Regions from separate parts of the Homo sapiens genome. Here all the other regions are linked to region 1. The links are contacts of gene promoters, found by promoter capture Hi-C in blood cells and fetal thymus (Javierre and others, 2016). All regions are on one chromosome and are shown on one strand. Each heading gives the region's core, a stretch centred on a gene start or on the middle of the fragment in contact. The rest is flanking DNA. Distances are from core to core; before and after follow the strand shown.

Region 1 (2,714 bases), core at 215-2,714:
AGCATAGTAATTAAGTCCAGAATCTGGCAACGTCCTGGGTCCAAATCCCAACAGCTGACACCTAATAACTATGTGACCTTGGGCAAGTTACTTTTAAAGTTTCTACCCCTAGGTTTCCCATTGGTTTTGCAAATGAAAGTAATGCCTACCCAAGCTAGATAGCCTGTGTAAAATATCGCCTCCATCACTCACAAGCAGTGTGGTCTGTAAAAAAAAAAACAAAAAACTCTATGCCTCAGTTTCCTCATCCGTAAAGTGACCCACCGCTGTGCTGGGATACAGAGAACAGCCCCTTCAGTTAGTGGCCTGGAAGCCAGACCTCTCAGAAAGGGTCCAGGAAGGCTGGAGTGAGATGGGGTGGGAGCGGCACTCACTCTCAGGAAAGTTCAGTTCAGAGGCAAGCCCTGTGTTGCGGGGTGCGGGGAGCCACGTGCCCTACCCTCCCTTGGCTGCTCGTGGGAAAAGGCCTAGAGGTTCGGGCCGAGAAGAGGAGCGAAAGCACAGAGCCGACTTCCCCTCACCCATCTGGGAAATGGGCTCGGGCCAACTGCTGACTTCGCGCTCGCTGGCGCAGCTCCCTGCGGAGACCTCGGCGGGGAGGGAGGCTGAACATCTGGATGACATTTCTGCGAGAGCGGCTCCGGAGCGGCGGTCGGGGAGGGAGAGGTGCGCTCGTGCGCACGTCGGGCCGGGAGGGAGGCGATTCCTCGGGGCCTGGGTCTTGTTTTTCTCGCTCTCTACCGCAGCCCCTTCTCCCGCCCCTCAGCCCCCACCCCGCAGCCCCCAGCCCCCGAGCCTCCCCGGCTCCCGACCAGCCGAGCTCCTTCACTGGCGGCCTCGCCTCGCCAGAGGGCACCCTCGATCTTCCGGAAAACGCCACCATTTTTCACTGCCCCTGGAGCGTCTCCAGGCTTCTGCCCGCCTCCCGACTCCGATCTTGTCAATGAAGAATCGGGCCAGGATCGCCGCGGAGCGGACGCCGACCCTCCGACCCGGCTCGCAGGCTGGGAGTCCCCTCTGCGAGGCTGGCATGGCCGCCCCTACCGGGTCCCGCGCCCTCTGCGGACCCTGCCCCGGGTTGGGCCTGGCCCGCGGGCGGCCCCGGGACCGGGGGACCAGGAGGGAGAGTAGACGCGGGCCGCGGACGGCGCGGACTGACAGCTGGCGAGAGGGCGCCGGGGCTGGGGGAAAGGGAGGGAGGGGGCTCATCGGAGTAACTTTCCAGAAAAACAGCCAACGTGTGGCAGGAGTGATTCCAAGAGGGGAAAAAAAGTTCAGCTACCACGTCGAACGAGAGGACTCGCAAAGTATTTTTCAAAAGGGCTCGGCTTTTCCTGTGCCTGTTTAAAACATTAACATCGTGCAGCAAAAGAGGCTGCGTGCGCTGGTCCCTCCCTCCCCCACCCCAGGCCAGAGACGTCATGGGAGGGAGGTATAAAATTTCAGCAGAGAGAAATAGAGAAAGCAGTGTGTGTGCATGTGTGTGTGTGTGAGAGAGAGAGGGAGAGGAGCGAGAGGGAGAGGGAGAGGGAGAGAGAGAAAGGGAGGGAAGCAGAGAGTCAAGTCCAAGGGAATGAGCGAGAGAGGCAGAGACAGGGGAAGAGGCGTGCGAGAGAAGGAATAACAGCTTTCCGGAGCAGGCGTGCCGTGAACTGGCTTCTATTTTATTTTATTTTTTTCTCCTTTTTATTTTTTAAAGAGAAGCAGGGGACAGAAGCAATGGCCGAGGCAGAAGACAAGCCGAGGTGCTGGTGACCCTGGGCGTCTGAGTGGATGATTGGGGCTGCTGCGCTCAGAGGCCTGCCTCCCTGCCTTCCAATGCATATAACCCCACACCCCAGCCAATGAAGACGAGAGGCAGCGTGAACAAAGTCATTTAGAAAGCCCCCGAGGAAGTGTAAACAAAAGAGAAAGCATGAATGGAGTGCCTGAGAGACAAGTGTGTCCTGTACTGCCCCCACCTTTAGCTGGGCCAGCAACTGCCCGGCCCTGCTTCTCCCCACCTACTCACTGGTGATCTTTTTTTTTTTACTTTTTTTTCCCTTTTCTTTTCCATTCTCTTTTCTTATTTTCTTTCAAGGCAAGGCAAGGATTTTGATTTTGGGACCCAGCCATGGTCCTTCTGCTTCTTCTTTAAAATACCCACTTTCTCCCCATCGCCAAGCGGCGTTTGGCAATATCAGATATCCACTCTATTTATTTTTACCTAAGGAAAAACTCCAGCTCCCTTCCCACTCCCAGCTGCCTTGCCACCCCTCCCAGCCCTCTGCTTGCCCTCCACCTGGCCTGCTGGGAGTCAGAGCCCAGCAAAACCTGTTTAGACACATGGACAAGAATCCCAGCGCTACAAGGCACACAGTCCGCTTCTTCGTCCTCAGGGTTGCCAGCGCTTCCTGGAAGTCCTGAAGCTCTCGCAGTGCAGTGAGTTCATGCACCTTCTTGCCAAGCCTCAGTCTTTGGGATCTGGGGAGGCCGCCTGGTTTTCCTCCCTCCTTCTGCACGTCTGCTGGGGTCTCTTCCTCTCCAGGCCTTGCCGTCCCCCTGGCCTCTCTTCCCAGCTCACACATGAAGATGCACTTGCAAAGGGCTCTGGTGGTCCTGGCCCTGCTGAACTTTGCCACGGTCAGCCTCTCTCTGTCCACTTGCACCACCTTGGACTTCGGCCACATCAAGAAGAAGAGGGTGGAAGCCATTAGGGGACAGATCTTGAGCAA
Region 2 (2,714 bases), core at 96-2,595, 410 kb after region 1:
ACACACGCTCTCAATACGTATCTGTAGAATTGAGTTGTACTGCATATCACCATGAAATTTTACAAAACTGGAGACAAAGAGGAGATCCAACAGGATTTCAGAGATTTTAAAAAATCAGAAAAAGTTAAAAAAAAAAAACCAGATACAAAATATCAACACAGTTGCCTCAAGCCTGGAAATTTGAAGTCAGTGGAACAATGCCTTCTGAAGAAAAACCGTTTCTTACCTAGAATGCTATATCCAAACTACCAAAAAATCAGTTTGAGAAGAGAGTGAAACAACAAATGATACTGCCTTATCTTCTCTCTCAGGAAGCTGCTGAAGGATGTGCTCCACCAAAACAAGGAAGGAAACCTAGAGAGGGGAAGAGGTTAAGGCTGAGGAAACCGGGAATCCGCCACAAAAGGCAAACAATGGGAATCACCCAGCTAAAGGAAACTCCTGGGTAGACAGCTATCTACCAGGCATAAAAAGCAGTGTACTCGGCTGGTCGTGGTGGCTCATGCCTGTAATCCCAGCACTTTGGGAGGCTGAGGCGGGTGGATCACCTGAGGTCAGGAGTTCTAGATCGGCCTGGCCAACATGGTGAAACCCCATCTCTACTAAAAATACAAAAATTAGCCGGGCGTGGTGGCAGGCACCTGTAATCCCAGTTACTCAGGAGGCTGAGGCAGGAGAATCGCTTGAACCCAGGAGGCAGAGGTTGCAATGAGCCGAGATCGTGCCATCGCACTCCAGCTGGGGGGACAAGAGCAAGACTTTGTCCCCCCAAAAAAAAGAAAAAAGAAAAAAAAAGAAAGCAGCATACTCAGGCTGAAGCTGCTTTGAAGACTCCAAGGAAGAGTTCTTCAAGAAAGTCACACTGAAAGAATCATGTTTGAAAATATTGAGAGGTTTACACAATAGGGGGAAGATTAGGGGTTGGACTAATGATAAGTACCATAAATATAACTAAGTAAATGGGGAAAAGGAAGCATTATTAACTCCAGTGGAATAAACAAACTATGGAGGAAAAGGAAAAAATAATCATGATATACCCTAAGTGATTTGATTTGCATAGCATGAACACAATCCTAATAAAGTGAACACTGGGAGTTGATGTATCTAAAGCTATGATATAACACAGTTAGCAGGATGGGGGAGTGGGAAGCGGGCACCTGTGCAGGGTTGAGATGAGGGTGGGGTAAACAGTTAAACAAGGAGAATGGGGCCGGGCACGGTGGCTCACACCTGTAATCCCAGCCCTTTGGGATGCCGACGATGGTGGATTGCTTGAGCTCGGGAGTTCGAGACCAGGCTGGGGAACATAGCTAGACCCTGTCTCTATCAAAAGCAGAAACAAAAACCAAAAACTAAAAACAAGGAGAGCTGGTTTTCTTCCCTGGGGTTTTGGCAGAAGCACATTCCCTTCAAGGACAAACTTGGAGAATCTCTGAGCAGACCCCGGAGGAGAAGGAATCTAGACTCCAATCATGCGATTTGTCTGCCGTATAGAAAAGGCTATGGCATGCAAATGCCTAACATGGAAAAAGTCCGGAAGTGTTAATAAACCCGTGGCACTTACAGCTATGGTGGTTAAGTACCAAAAGAATTGAGAAGAGTTGGAAGTACTTGCCTCTGGAGCGCAGGAAAGGGGGGTACACAACTGATATGTTTCATACATGATTATTTTATTGTTTGAACTATGTATAACTAATATTTTTTCTTTTTTCTTTTTTTTGAGAAGGAGTCTTGCTCTGTCGCCCAGGCTGGAGTGCGGTGGTGCGATCTTGGCTTATTGCAACCTCTGCCTCCCAGGTTCAAGCGATTCTCCTGCCTCAGCCTCCCGAGTAGCTGAGACTACAGGCGCACGCTACCATGCCTGGCTAATTTTTTGTATTTCGTTGTAGAGACGGGGTTTCACTGTATTAGCCAGGATGGTCTTGATCTCCTGACCTCGTGATCTGCCTGCCTACCTCAGCCTCCCAAAGTGCTGGGATTACAGGCGTGAGCCACTGTGCCCAGCCAACTAATTTTTTTGAACTTAAAAAAAATCCTAAAATTAAAAAATGGAATCAAATTTAACCGAGCTCCAGCTGTTTCACTGGAGCCCATAGGTGATGTCTCAAAGTGTGGTCAACTTGTCCTAGAGTTTATACTGTTGGTGCTATGATGGACACCCAAGACTTCAACTCTGGAACCTCAGGGATGCCTCTTCAGCCAAGCTATGTCCTCCAAAGTCCATTAGGGCGTCTCCTCAGAGAAATTGTGTGTGTAGTCAGAGGACCTATTCCCCACATCCTAGTCTTGTTTGACCATTCCCTGGCCTTCTTTTTGCTTCTAACGTCTTTCATACTTATAGAGTCTGTGGGCTCTTATCCCTACAACTTACAACTCAACTTCCGTCCCATCATCCAAAGACCTGTGCCAAGGTCTACTTCTCTGGAGTTCTCTCTGTCGACAAAGCGCACCACTAGCTCCCAGTGAGCCAAGCCTGAAGACTAAGGATTCCCCAGATCCCCCTTCACTCACTCTCAGTGTCACAGATGCTTCTTTCCTTACAGTCTTCCCTCCTGTCCTTTCTCACTGCCACCACCCTGCTGCAGCCTCTCCTGGCTTCTCACCTCCAACCCACGGCTGCCTCCTCGTTGTTCTCGCTCCTTCCAGTTCAGCCGGATGTCGCCTCACAGGATTTTCCAGTTCTCTTCAGGTCACTCCCTGCCTTGAACCCTCCA
Region 3 (2,714 bases), core at 157-2,656, 320 kb after region 1:
GCCTACATAACTCAAAGATGGAGCTGTAAGCAGCTTTTGCATTCTTGCTTCTAGGCTGTCTTCATACCACTACCCCTATTAGAAATGCCTTCCCCACTTCTGTTTATCTAAGCCCACTCTCCAAGGCCTACCTAAAGTCTCACCACCTTCAGGCAGCCTTCCCCAGCTCCTTCAGCCCATTACGATACTTCCTTCTCTGAACTCCTATAGCACCCACTTTATAATTGATTGTTAATAATCTTTTTAACTGATATAAAGCCAGCCTTTTACAATAGCAATTAAAGTTGACATTTTTTCAGTGACCAAAGAAATCTTACATCACGTTCTTCTACGAAAGCTTCTATATCTACATACAGAGTTGTATTTGGGATCCCCAAGCAAAATATAGAAAAACAGCCTCTTTACATTTTCTATTTGAAATAATACCATGCAAAACAAGACTGCCTGGATAGTTTCTATTCCTGAAGTCCACGATTGCAAGGAATTAATACTTTAACACAGCCTAGGGATCTGAGCAGATCTAACAGATGTCCATGGATATACATCTTTGGATCAAGTCAACATCTTCCGATGATTTATGGCCTTCAAACTTCTAAATCAACTTTTAAAATGTAAGCCTGCTGCTTCAGGTGTGAACAAGATTGATTTAAGCTTCCTAATGTAAAAAATAAGTGTCTGATAGACAAGACATAAGCTGATGAAACAAGATTAACAGTTAAAAATCAACAGTAGGAGTCTAAAAGGAGGAAGTGGTCCATAAATTTGGATGGGAGCAGAGGGAAAATTACACCTTTATTTTCACTAACTTTTACTAGAAATTCAGTATTTCTTAATTATGAATATAGGCAACGAACCATAGTAATATTAGCATTATCTGTGCCTTTGACGTTATCTAAAATTACAGCAGTTTTTTTGTTTTGTTTTGTTTGAGACGGAGTCTCACTCTGTCTCCCAGGCTGGAGCACAGTGGCACAATCTCGGCTCACTGCAACCTCTGCCTTCCAGGTTCAAGCGATTCACCTGCCTCAGCCTCCCGAGTAGCTGGGATTACCCACAACCACACCCGGCTAATTTTTGTATTTTAGTAGAGACAGGGTTTCACCATATTGGCCAGGCTGGTCTCAAACTCCTGACTGCAAGTGATCTGCCCACCTCGGCCTCCCAAAGTGCTGGGATTACAGGCGTGAGCCACTGCACCTGGCCAATTACAGGTATTACATTTGTCACTACTTCTAAGTTATAGTAGTTTAAGACTCACCCCTAGATCACATGTGATCATGGTCTTTCTATCTAAATGCTAGTGTGATGAGGTTGGACAACAATTGGGCAACTCTCCTCCTAATAATCATTCAGTCACTAAATGATGACACCTCACACTGGTGACCCAGACATCTATGCTGCTTCCCAGTACCCCCGACCTATGATTGTTAATCAAAGGCCACCCTCCCAGTGTACTGATCTTACACAAACTAAACAAAAACAGTCTTCATGTTGTTGTCTTTAGAAAACAAAATTTAACTTTCCCAGATTTGAAATGATCTTATTATTTAATGTATTAGTAAAACAGCACATATTACTATGTTACAAATGTGTTTTAATAACTGCATTTGAATGTAATTAGTACTCTTTGTAATAATATGTATTTTATTTTAAGCCTTAAAAACATTATTCTGGTAAGGAATCCATGGCATAAAAAAGTTAACAACTCTGATCTAAGGTAATGTAAAGTATAAAGCCTTCATTTATTCCTTCATTTCGTTATTCAGTCAGCAAGAATTTACTAAGTACCTACTATAATATTAGGTCAAACTATCTGCAATCGTCAGTATTTGACTGTTTCTGACCTACCAAAATGGCAGTTTCATATAGTTCAATCTAACATTTGTCAGGCCCAATCTGTAAACCCACTAATAAGAGAGACAGTAATGGAGTAAAAGAACAACCTTTAAAAAGGGAAAGACTGATACTTGCAGCAGAAGTTAAAAGTTTTATGAAATGGGTAAGAGGCAGCACACCGAAAGCAAAAAGTCAGAAGAAGGGAAAGTAACCAGAGGGAATTATCCATTTAATTATCCTGAACAAGAATGACCCAAATATACTTTCAAATCTCTATTAGTTTCTATGACCTAACAGTGATAAGAAACGTTTCCTCAAAGCTTTCTTAATGCTTCAACAATTTTTTTCAAATTACAAGTAATCTTGTATCTTACAAGAAGCCCACCATAAATTCAATATTAAAACCAGTAAAAATAATGCCTTACATTTGTATAGCACTTACAAAGTAATTTCACATACATTATGCTATTTGAGTCTAACCAGACCCCTACAAAATAGCCTGGGAGATATTATCTCTATTTTTCAGGTTACATAGCACACACATATCCAAAAGGACTCAGGGAGAATCTTAAAAATGAATTTTACCTTTAAACCAGATTCTCTCTTTACTCTGTGTCAAGCAATAATTAAAGGAGGCAAAAGAGCAAAGTGATCAAAATCCAGAAAAGCTAAGTCCAAATCTCAATGCATCACTTACTCTCTATGGGTCACTGAGGAAATTTCCTGATAAGACTGAGTTTAAAAAAGTGAAAATAATAACACCTTCAGATTTAAAAAGATATAAGATATAGATGAGATAAAGCCTTTATCGTCATCTGTAGTAGCTATATTTATCATTATCATTCTTTTTTTTTTTTTTGAGATGGAGGTTTGCTCTT
Region 4 (2,714 bases), core at 140-2,639, 280 kb after region 1:
TCTCAGAGAATGTATCAATACTGTATTTCCCATGGATCATGTGTGAGACAAGAATGAGTAAACTTGACTTCCATAATCAAATTCATACCTTAATCAGAAAACACCCATTCTTTCCCCTCCTTGCTTTGAATATACTAAATTGGGAAAATATGGCATTTAGTCATGGTTACTGAAGGAGTGGAGCAAACACAGCTTTGTTCCTTTATGCTGTATTTCTAAAGAGCACATCCTTATGAGACCACGTTAGCCAACCGAGATGTTTCCATCTGTGGTCCACACTTCTCTTTTCAGTGTTACATAAAAGTGATGCTTTTGCTATCCTTTATCTCGTTCTCGTAATGGTAAAAGTTGCTATTTGCAGAGAGTTTCCAAAAGGTTATGACTACTATAGGGAAGTTTTAGTAAGTGGCCCTCTCACTCCAGTGGGAAGAGAGGGGAAGATATTTTCATTTGGCCCTCACACCAACTCCATCCCCACTGCCTAAATCCCTCACTCACTCACATTAGTTCTGCTCCCAGACCCTCTGCCTCAGCATTCCCTCTCCTCACCCTCCTGCTTAAATCTAAAAGGAAAGCAGGCAGCAGCCTTGGAAAGAGTTACTTCATCCAGTTGGCTAATGGGTCACATATTCCATGGGAAAGGATCCAGGCATGGAAAAGAGGGGATGGTTATGCCTTTTGTGTAAGGAGAGAGAAGAGTATTAACAACATGGTTTGCAGGTCTGGGTAAAAGGTGGTAAAATTCCAGTTTTGGGGTAAAACAGGAGTATTTTCCCATTATGTCCGCATGTTGCCAGCTCCCCTCATGCCTCCTGGCATCCTCCCAGGCTTCTGTCTGGCACTTCCACTAAATACCTAAAAGAATCAGACTCATTCCAAAGCTTCACAAAGAGGGAGGGGGAAGGCAAAAGGTCCTGCCAAGTACTTTGATCTATGCAGGGGGTCTCAAAGGATTCAGCCCAGGGAGAGGTGGGAGGGAGAAAAAGACTCTTACATAGCCTGCCAAACACATTCTCTAAGACATGTCACCCCACTGAGATTCGGCATCCAGGGAAGAGTTAGGGCGCAGGGTTCTCGGCTCCACCAAGGAAAGTTTAACTTTTCTATCCTTTATGATGCTAGCTTTAAAATAACAAATCACTAGGGCAAAAAAGCATTCCAAAAGAAAAAAGTCCCAGATGAGCTGGGAATAGATCCTATTCTTTTTGACTCATATCTAAGAAAATAAAAAGCAAACTTGTACCATAGCTGACTTTCAATAGCAATTCCATTTGGCAGCTAAAACCTAAACCCAAACTAGTGCCGTCTATGAGATTCAAACAACACTGGAGCTCCTGGCACAGAGCTGAAGGAAAAGCTGTTGGAGAGGGGCCTTCAACACCAACGTCAGAGCAGAGACAAGAGGAGACAGAGCCAAGGCATATGACCATGGCCTTATGTCACAGGAGACTCAGGGTAAAAGGCCTCCAGAGTGGCCTAGGCCAGGTAACAGAAGTTGCAGCCAATGCCTGGGGCTGTAGCAGTTGCTCTATCAAAACCAGATCCTATATTTCTTTGGCATGAAGGGTCTGGCCATCATTGTTTACGGTACTGTTTTGAGTCCAGACTGAATTTAAGGACTTTCCAATGTGAAAGATCCCTCAGAAAGTTAGTTTCTACACATATGGCAAACAGCTCAATGTGAAAAGACAAGTGGGGAATTTAAGATAGGGTTCTGGTCCCACATACAACACATCTACCTACCCCTGCCCTTCCAGAGTTCCAGTGGAAGGACAGAAAGAATATTTTCAAAAGAATGAAATGATATCAAAGCTAGGAAAAAGTAAAAGAAGCCAGAAAAGTCCAAAAGAGATAAGAGTGACCTTCCCAAGGAGGCTCCTGCAAATTTCCAAGCTTGTACTCAACAAACATGAAGCTCAGGGATCAGCCAAGGAATTAGAATCAGATAATTAACAAACAGCATTTGGAACAGTGAGGCCAGGAGACGTGTGGGTGCAGAAATCTGATAGAGAAGAGTAGAACTTGAGGCTACCTTATCACCAGTACACACAAAAAGGAAAAGAAAGGTAGCTCTGCCCAAGAGGGAGATCACCAAAATCCTCCTCTGCATTCACAATATGGCCCACTTTATTTTGGCAAGGTGGAAGGGGAGTGCTTCTCACCATGTCCACCTAAAGTAAAGCCTGAGAGTCAACATGTTTTGCCCTTACACAAAATTCACAGTCAGCCTCTTCCAGGGAGAAGATATTAGGAAAAGAGTCCTACACAACCACAGTAGAAACCCAGACCAGCGGCCAGTTTCATTCAGTCTAGTCTTTTGTTCATAAATATGGTCCAACATGTAAGGATCATCAAAGCTGAGAAAATCCAATAGCAGGGGAAAAGACAATCCCAATAAAATTAAAGGACAGAAGAGAACTTTACAAAAATTTCCATTGGTATCCTCAGAAGGAAAGGCAGGCAAACTGCATCCATTATGCAACAAAAGGTTGTTATTTGTAAATAAAAATAAAGCAAATCAGAATATGAGTTTCTGGAAATCAACCTATGATACCCAATATAAAAATACAGTAGATAAATGAATAATAAATGGATAAACCTCAACCTGTGATCTAGAAGATGGGAAAAGAATTAAAAATGCGAGAAAAGTTAACATGAAGGAAAGATCTAGAATGCCTCAAAAAAGAGTTCTAAAAGCGGAGACAAATAAGAAG
Region 5 (2,714 bases), core at 1-2,500, 260 kb after region 1:
CCCGTCCAACTTCCCAAGATCCTCTTCACAAAACATGTTAAGCTTCTTGAGTCTCCTTACCAAAACAACTGCTGCGATGAGGAACAAAGGTTTTACAGGCAGTAGCAATAGCTAGTTCAGCAGAGATTATAGTCTTAATGATCAGGTCTTCTACATGGGCCATCAATGCTGCAAACAAAAATTTTTAAATTTCAGACTCAATATCAAAATACATGGATTATGAACTGGATTCCAGATAACAATATAACTATAAAAGCATGTGTGCTCATTCAAAAAAGCCTCTATATGGCAGACTTCTGAATGGGTGCTATAGAGGCAGGCATATCTGTGAACAGATCAATACAGTCAAGAATGTAGGTGCCAAGGGATACCCTCAGGTGGCCTCTTATGACAAAAGACAGACACATAATGGAATAGGAGCCTCACTTCCCTTCTCACACTTCCCCTATGACCCTTTCCCTTGTGAAATGAAAAGTCTTTTTTGGCACACAGTTTCCCGTTCTGCTCAAGGCTCAGCAATTGTGTCCATTTTGATTTGAAGCCCTGTGCTCAAACAGTGCCCATTCTCCAACTCAGCAACATGAATGAGAGAGATTAACTTAGAAAACTCGAAACTTGGGGCCAATATGGAGACAGGCAATTTGTTATATAAAAAGCTGACCATATTTTAGTCAGCAGTTCAACATTCAAGAAGGGTAAATTCACTAAGGATTAAAAGGAAAAAGTTATGTCTTTCAGACCCGAAACAAGAAAAGGGATTTTGAGGGTAATGGAAAACCTGTTCCCCAGCTTGTCAACTGCAGGAAAAAGTAACACCAAGGACAATCATCCCGTCTCAGCAACACTATCAAAGCAACAGAGAATGATTCCTGGCAAGAGACAATGATAAAGTTATCCAAAGAAGAGAAGTCAAGAAGGAAAAAGGCCCAGTACTCACCGGTTGTATCTCTGCCTTCTTGTTTCAGGTACCTAAGCATAGCACTCATGCTCCATTTGTTTCCATAATCCTCCACTTCTGGATCGTCACAACTAAAACAAATTAATAAATCAAAGTCACATATGTAACTAGGCTTGGCTATAATAACAAGACTCTTTGCAAATAGCCTTCTTGTCTTTTTAAAAAGTTTTTTTTTTAATTCACTTTGCTGACTTCCAGTTACTCATTTTTTCTTGGTCCTTTTTGTCATATATCCTTTCATACCAATTTCTTCAATGGAAATGAAAATGCATACAGTTTGCCTTTTTCAAGAGGGTGGGGAAGAAGGCGGCAAATTCTTTCTTAACCAAACAATTATGCATCAAGAAAGAGTGAAAGCAATGTGTGAAAGAAGGCAAACAAATTTAAGAATGGTTACAACAAGTTAAAAGACAATTAACCTTTGAGGTGAATGTCACCTGAGTCCACAAAACAACCTCTGATGCCATTTTCAGACCAGAACTGAGTTGGAATGGGTGAGTGAGTTATTCTGGTGCAGCATGCTAATGAAATAACCCCACACAGAATTGCTTTGGCATCTGAAGCAGGTTCCCTCCTCTTTGGCAGTAGATATGGCTTTTCCTGATTTTTTTGAGGTAACACTGAAGGGAGAGTGCACTGGAGTGACAGTAAGAGTGAGGAGGTATACTATTGCTATGGCAGCGGAGTGGCCAATGGCACAGCCTCCCACGAATGTTGGAAGAGCCCCGCAATCTGGAACCTGTGTTTTGCAGCTGTCCCCTCACTCCCTACCACCATCCCACTCTCCACCAATTGTGCCTTTGCTCATCTTTCACAGTGGAGGTATGATCTCTTCAGTCAATGCAAATGCTGCTCACAGGATATTTGCTGAAACCTATATAGCTTCAGCAACTATTCTATCACTTCCAGATTCCTTTCTTTCTTTCCTTGGACCTGCTAGGAACCTATTTTTAGTCTGAGTAGAAAGTAACTATTTGGGTCTCTTTTCCACTTTTCCACTTTCTGGCAAAAATATCGGCATGAAAGAAAACAGAGCAAAAAGAATATTTCCACACAGCTGGGCTAGTACTCCCTTCCACTGAATCCTTTTCTGAGATGGCCTCATTTCTTTCTTTCTTTGATTTTTTCCTTTTCTTTTTCTTGATCATACAAGTATTTATTTTAGAAAAATTTAGAAAATACATAATGGCACAAAGAAGAAAATAAAAATCACCCACTCACAATCCTACCCACTATAGTTAAGCTAAATTAACACTTCGGTACTACTTCTGGTCTTTTTTTCCTCCCCCCTCAGCAAAAATAAGCAGCTTTAGATATCTCATATTCAAGCAAGAAAGTTAAGTTGCATGTGCTATCTGATAACCTGCTTTTTCCACCTACGAATACATGGTAATGAACATTCTTATCACTGATCCTGTGTGTACATCTTTTATTCCTTAAGGTTAAGTTCCTAGAAATGGAACCATGGGGTCAAAGGGTACAGACATTTTTTAAGCTTTTGATATGTTTGCCAAGTGCTGAAATGACCTCATTTCTTAACTTCTAAAACGTTCCATATGCCTATTAAATTCCCATTCCTAAGTCAAGTGAGGGAAGGCAGTGAGGAAGAAAAACTTGTGAAGGCACATTTTGGTAGAGAAAGGTGACACCGTTAACCGGGGAGGCAATGGAGAAGCAGCAGGAGATATGCCTCAACACTGTTATATGACTGACAGATTTCCATAAATGGTACATGGACATTAATGTAAAGTTGTCC

What was found. The method cuts DNA at HindIII sites, captures the fragments that hold promoters and counts their contacts. A CHiCAGO score of 5 or more calls a contact.
Region 2: a fragment that was not itself captured here is called in contact with the fragment with the promoter of TGFB3 in region 1 in 1 of 17 cell types (erythroblasts); the score reaches 5.8 in erythroblasts.
Region 3: a contact is called between a fragment that was not itself captured here and the fragment with the promoter of TGFB3 in region 1, in 1 of 17 cell types (naive CD8 T cells). The highest score is 5.3, in naive CD8 T cells.
Region 4: a fragment that was not itself captured here is called in contact with the fragment with the promoter of TGFB3 in region 1 in 14 of 17 cell types (M0 macrophages, endothelial precursors, naive B cells and 11 more); the score reaches 10.3 in M0 macrophages.
Region 5: a fragment that was not itself captured here is called in contact with the fragment with the promoter of TGFB3 in region 1 in 13 of 17 cell types (megakaryocytes, M0 macrophages, M1 macrophages and 10 more); the score reaches 10.7 in megakaryocytes.

What each region holds. Positions count from the first base shown.
Region 1 is chr14:75,980,745-75,983,458 of GRCh38, reverse strand. It overlaps TGFB3 (transforming growth factor beta 3), which reads left to right and starts at 1,464. Exons shown (of 7, transcript NM_003239.5): 1 at 1,464-2,714. The coding sequence starts at 2,566. RefSeq lists silencers at 670-789, 920-1,159 and an enhancer at 830-889. The HindIII fragment of the contact is 14,571 bases long and covers 1-2,714 here.
Region 2 is chr14:75,572,310-75,575,023 of GRCh38, reverse strand. It overlaps FLVCR2-AS1 (FLVCR2 antisense RNA 1), which reads left to right. Exons shown (of 3, transcript NR_110552.1): 3 at 1-123. Among named protein-coding and RNA genes, the nearest start is that of FLVCR2, 5.0 kb to the left of the region's middle. The HindIII fragment of the contact is 3,502 bases long and covers 1-2,714 here.
Region 3 is chr14:75,664,066-75,666,779 of GRCh38, reverse strand. The region is part of intron 2 of TTLL5 (tubulin tyrosine ligase like 5); the gene reads right to left. Among named protein-coding and RNA genes, the nearest start is that of TTLL5, 4.2 kb to the right of the region's middle. The HindIII fragment of the contact is 1,505 bases long and covers 654-2,158 here.
Region 4 is chr14:75,700,972-75,703,685 of GRCh38, reverse strand. All of the region lies in intron 7 of TTLL5 (tubulin tyrosine ligase like 5), which reads right to left. Among named protein-coding and RNA genes, the nearest start is that of TTLL5, 41 kb to the right of the region's middle. The HindIII fragment of the contact is 1,012 bases long and covers 884-1,895 here.
Region 5 is chr14:75,718,050-75,720,763 of GRCh38, reverse strand. It overlaps TTLL5 (tubulin tyrosine ligase like 5), which reads right to left. Exons shown (of 32, transcript NM_015072.5): 11 at 938-1,029; 12 at 61-168. Among named protein-coding and RNA genes, the nearest start is that of TTLL5, 58 kb to the right of the region's middle. The HindIII fragment of the contact is 2,411 bases long and covers 45-2,455 here.